2 separate regions of the Homo sapiens genome follow, and region 2 is linked to region 1. Evidence: promoter capture Hi-C in 16 types of primary human blood cells and fetal thymus (Javierre and others, 2016). All regions are on one chromosome and are shown on one strand. The core of a region is centred on a gene start or on the middle of the fragment in contact, and the rest is flanking DNA. Distances in the headings are between cores, read along the strand shown. Region 1 holds the start of EIF3G (eukaryotic translation initiation factor 3 subunit G). Region 2 overlaps ZNF561-AS1 (ZNF561 antisense RNA 1).

Region 1 (2,700 bases), core at 1-2,500:
TGGGGAAGAAGAGCCTCACCTTCCTCCTTGCGACAGCCTTTGAAGCCTTCCGGGTCTCAATCCTGAAGGTGCGGACAATCTGAGGATGGGAGGGGAGAAGGGTCAGGCTCCTGGGACCAAGGGATCTCCTTTATCAACCTCCTCAACACACCCCACCCCATTCCGGTCTATGGGCCCCCAAGCACAAGGGTCCCCACTCCCTGCACCCCCCACCCTCACCTTGAACTTCTTGCCATCCTCATCTATCTTGTACTCTGTCACTGTCTTTATGTTTCCGTTGATGACCTCCTTGGGAGGCGGCAGTGGAGCTGGCAGAAGGGGAAAAACAGAGAAAGACTGAGCCCTGGGTCATGGGGATCAGGAGCGGCAGGGCTGGAGGGAGAGGCAGCCCGGACACCGAGTGGCAGTCCTCACTCACCTCCCGGCAGTCCTCACTCACCTCCCGGCAGTAGCTCTGGCTCTGGGCTGGTGTCACCTGTGGCCAGAGGGATCCCCTTGAGGAGCTCGCTGGTGACACATTTGTCTGCAAAAGGCAGCGTAGGAAGGAGGAGTCAGCTCCAGGGGCAGGAGCTCCCCAGCTGCGATGGAAGGGCTTTTGGGATGACGCCTACAGCAAAAGCGGAGAAAGGCAGGCCAAGGGCAGAGGGCTGGCCAGGCAACGCACTGGGATGGCCCTGTGGGGACTCGGAGTGGCAAGGATGGGAGATCCCTCGTAGGAAGGTGGGTGCCAGGCCATGAAGCCAACCAGGCGCCAGTAGAGAAACAGGAGACGGGAGATTACAACTTCCTCCCTGGAGGGGAACAGCTGGGAGGCAGTGGCATGGGAGGAAGAGGGACCCGCCGGGGAACACCTGGAGTTGGCAACAGGCGGGTCCCAAGGAGGATGGCGCGGGGCAGGGGCAGACCGTGACGGGGTACACGGTGCCAGACTGGGAGATGGAAGCAGGCGGCAGTCACACGGCTTGGGCCTGGCCGCGAATACCCCGGGCGACCGTGTACACTTACCGTCCTCCCCCTCCTCCTCCACCTGGTCGGCCCAACTGGGCTTCGAACTGCGGAAACAAATGTGTGGGGAACGAAGATTAAGTCAGCCAGGCCCGGCTCCCGCAGCCTCGGCGTACCCAGGCCCCATAATACTTCCCAGAGCACCCCAACCGCTTCCCGTGCCCCTTTCCGCGATCGCCGACTCACTCAAAGTCTCCAGTAGGCATCGCAAAAAGTATTCTCCACGCAGCCCAAGCCCGGCCAGAGAGCGGAAGCGGGCGAAAACGAGACTTCCGGTGCCGCCGTCGCCGCCTAGAGGGGCCCAGCCGCGGCACCCACAGCGACACCTGCGGACGGAGGTGGAGGCGCACGCGGCTGTGTATGCTACTGGGCGCTGCTGGTACCAGAGTAGGGCCAGCGGGGGCAGAGGCTGATTTCAGGGCTGGTCCTATTAACCTTTAAAATTAAAATAGGCCAGGCGAGGTGGCTCAAGCCTGTAATCCTCGCACTTTGGGAGGTCGAGGCGGGCGGATCACCTGAGGTAAGGAGTTCGAGACCAGCTTGGCCAACGTGGCGAAACCCCGTCACTACTAAAAACACAAAAATTAACTGGGCGTGGTAGTGCGTGCCTGCAGTTCCAGCTACTCGGGAGGCTGAGGCAGGAGAATCGCTTGAACCCGGGAGGCGGAGGTTGCAGTGAGCCGAGATCGCGCCACTGCACTCCAGCCTGGCGACAGAGCGAGACACCGTCTCAAAAAAAAAAAAAAAAAAAAAATTAGCCAGGCGTGGTGGTGGGCACCTGTAATCCCAGCTACTCGGGAGGCTGAGGCGGGAGAATCGCTTGAACCCAGGAGGCGGAGGCTGCAGTGAGCCGAGATCGCACCACTGCACTCCAGCCTGGGGCTGCAGAGTGAGACTCCGTCTCAGAAAAATAAGTAAAATTAAAATAAATAATAATAATCATAAAGCTCACTTATTGAGTGCTTATTGTATATGAAGCATGGTGAGGAGGATATTACTTCCATTTTACAGCTGAAGAAACTGAGGCTCAGACTGGGTGCAGTGGCGCCTGCCTGTAATCCCGCACTTTGGGAGACCAAGGCGTGGGGATGGCTTGAGGCCAGGAGTTTGAGACAAGCCTGGGCAACATAGTGAGACCCCTGTCTCTAAAAAAGAAAAAAAGAAAAAGAAAGAAAAAAGAAACCAAAGTTCGGGGAAAACAATCCTTTTGCTTAAACTGTTCCTTGTCTTCTTTCCCGATCCCAATGATTCAGATGCCAAGTGGCCTCCCCTCAGCCACTCCCTCTTCTTTTCTTTGTAGCATTCTTGGCTTTCCGGTATAATTTTGTGCATTTACTTGTTTATTGCTCAGCTCCTTGCTCTAAGCACAACCGTCCTCAGTCGAAGTGATTCATGATGACTCCCCAGGGGAAAAAACTGGTCCTCAGGGAGGAAAAAAATCTTAGATATTGTGGTCTTCCAAAGCCAGCTCTATCAGACAGCATTTATCCCTAAGTATTTAGTTTCTGCCTTTAGGGAGATATTAAATGTAATTAAATTGAAATTAATTTAGTTGATGTAAATTCAATTTTAGGATAATTCGGGTTTTCTCCTAAGAAGGGTGATAATGAACAAAAAACGTTTGACAATGTCGGACGCAGTGGCTCACGCCTGTAATCCCAGCACTTTGAGAGGCCAAGATGGGCAGATCTCTTG
Region 2 (2,700 bases), core at 38-2,537, 500 kb before region 1:
TGGAGTGCAGTGGTGTGATCTCAGCTCACCGCAACCTCCACCTCCCAGGTTCAAGCAATTCTCCTGCCTCAGCCTCTGGAGTAGCTGGGATTACAGGCGCCTGCCACCACGCCCAGCTAATTTTTGTATTTTTAGTAGAGAACGATTTCACCAGGTTGGCCAGGCTGATCTCGAACTCCTGGCCTAAAATATCTGCCAGGCCAAGATGGTAGGATCGTTTAAGGCCAGGAGTTTAAGACAAGCCTGGGCTACACAGCAAAACCCCATCTCTCTATATATATATAAAAAAAATTTAAATTAAAAAATGTTTTGTTTTGTTTTGTTTTTTTGAGACATAGTTTCGCTCTGCCACCCAGACTGGAGTGCAGTGGTGCGATCTTCACTCACTGCAAACTCTGCCTCCTGGGTTCAAGCCATTCTTCTGCCTCAGCCTCCTGAGTAGTTGGGACTACAGGCATGTGCCACTGCGCCCAACTAATTTTTGCATTTTTAATACAGACATGGTTTCATCATATTGACCCAGCTGGTCTCAAAGTCCTGACCTCGTGATCCATCCACCTGGTCCTCCCAAAGAGCTGGGATTACAGGCATGAGCCACTGCCCCAGCCAAAAATATGTATTTCTGTTGTTATTTTTCTGATCTTACCACATGGGCCAGGAACACATTTCCTACGTTGTAAAATAGCACTGATACCAGACATTCTCCCCAAGATTATTCAGAAATGTAACATACTCCCAATAAAAATACCAAAAGTTTTTTTCTGGAGTTAAGTACATTGATACTGAAGTTTATGTGGAGGAACAAACATCTGATAATAACCAAGAAAACAAAAACAAAAGCAATGATGAGCAGCAGATATTAAAACATACTATTGACAGTTTTCATGCAAGGCAAAGAATTACATTATTTTAAAATAAAAATAAAGTCCGGGCACAGTGGCTCACGCCTGTAATCCCAGCAATTTGGGAGGCCGAGGCAGGCAAATTACCTGAAGTCGGGGGTTTGATACCAGCCTGGCTAACATGGTGAAACCCTGTCTCTACTAGAAGTACAAAAATTAGCAAGCGTGGTGGCACATGCTTGTAATCCCAGCTACTTGGGAGGCTGAGGCAGGAGAGTTGCTTGAGCCTGGGAGATGAAGGTTGCAGTGAGCCGAGATTGTGCCACTGAATTGCAGCCTGGCTGACAGAGTGAGACTCTGTCTAAAAAATTAATTAATTAATTAATTTAAAAAACATACTATAAAGCCTCTATAATTAAAACTATGTGGTACTAGCACGTGAAACAGAAACTAATAAAATATCAAAAAATAGACCCATGAACATGTAGAAATTTGGTTCATAAATGTATTTTGCCAGATGCGGTGGCTCATGCCTGTATCCTAGCAATTTGGGAGACTGAGGCAGGAGGATCACTTGAGGTCAGGAGTTCAAAACCAGCCTGCCCAACATGGTGAAACCCCATCTCTATTAAAAATACAAAAACATAGCCGGGTTCGGTGGCTCATGCCTGTAATCCCAGAACTTTGGGAAGCCGAGGCAGCCGGATCATGAGGTCAGGAGTTCGAGACTAGTCTGACCAACATGGTGAAATCCCATCTCTACTAAAAATACAAAAATTAGCTGGGTGTGGTGATGCATGCCTGTAATCTCAGCTACTCAGGAGGCTGAGGCAGGAGAATTGCTTGAACCCAGAAGGCGGAGGTTGCAGTAAGCTGAGATCGCACCACTGCACTCCAGCCTGGGCAACAGAGTGAGACTCTGTCTCAAAAAAGAAAAAAAATTTAGCCAAGCATGGCCGAGCATGCTGGCTCATGCCTGTAATCCCAGCACTTTGGGAGGCTGAGGCAGGCAGATCACGACGTCACGAGATCGAGACCATCCTGGCCAACTTGGTGAAACCCCGTCTCTACTAAAAATAGAAAAATTAGCTGGCATGGTGGCGGGTGCCTGTAATCCCAGCTACTCAGGAGGCCGAAGTAGGAGAATCGCTTGAACCCAGGAGGCGGAGGTTGCAGTGAGCCAAGATCGCTCCCCTGCACTCCAGCCTGGCGATAGAGCGAGACTCCGTCTAAAAAAAAAAAAAAAAAAATTAGCCAAGCGTTGTGGTGGGCGCCTGTAAGCCCAGCTACTCGGGTGGCTGAGGCAAGAGAATTGCTCAAACCTGGGAGGCAGAGGTTGCAGTGAGCCGAGATCACGCCATTTCACTCCAGCCTGGCGACACAGCGAGACTCTGTCTCAAAAAAAAAAAAAAAAAAAAAAAAAAAAGCCGGGTGCATTGGCTGATGCCTATAATTCCAGCACTTTTGGAGGCAGAGGCGGGTGGATCACCTGAGGTCACGAGTTAGAGACCATCCTGACCAACATGAAGAAACCCCGTCTCTGCTAAAAATACAAAATTAGCTGGGCATGGTGGCACATGCTTATAATCCCAGGTACTCAGGAAGCTGAGGCAGGAGAACCGCTTGAACCCAGGAGGCGGAGGTTGGGGTGAGTGGAGATCGTGCCATTGCATTCCAGCCAGGGCAACAAGAGAGAAACACCGTCTAAAAAAAAAAAGTGGCATTTCAGATAAATGGGGCAAAAAATGCCATTTGTAACAAATGGAAGGTCTAAGATAGCTGGTTAGCCATCTGAGAAAAGATGAAATTAAATCCATACTTCACAGCATATACAAGAATAAACTCCAAGTGGACTAGG

The links. The method cuts DNA at HindIII sites, captures the fragments that hold promoters and counts their contacts. A CHiCAGO score of 5 or more calls a contact.
Region 2: a contact is called between a fragment that was not itself captured here and the fragment with the promoter of EIF3G in region 1, in 1 of 17 cell types (total B cells). The highest score is 5.3, in total B cells.

The regions. Positions count from the first base shown.
Region 1 is chr19:10,118,649-10,121,348 of GRCh38, forward strand. It overlaps EIF3G (eukaryotic translation initiation factor 3 subunit G), which reads right to left and starts at 1,251. Exons shown (of 11, transcript NM_003755.5): 1 at 1,192-1,251; 2 at 1,006-1,052; 3 at 440-523; 4 at 220-308; 5 at 20-79. The coding sequence starts at 1,211. RefSeq lists enhancers at 1-753, 754-1,509. The HindIII fragment of the contact is 4,736 bases long and covers 1-2,700 here.
Region 2 is chr19:9,623,209-9,625,908 of GRCh38, forward strand. All of the region lies in intron 1 of ZNF561-AS1 (ZNF561 antisense RNA 1), which reads left to right. Among named protein-coding and RNA genes, the nearest start is that of ZNF561-AS1, 3.1 kb to the left of the region's middle. The HindIII fragment of the contact is 3,033 bases long and covers 1-2,700 here.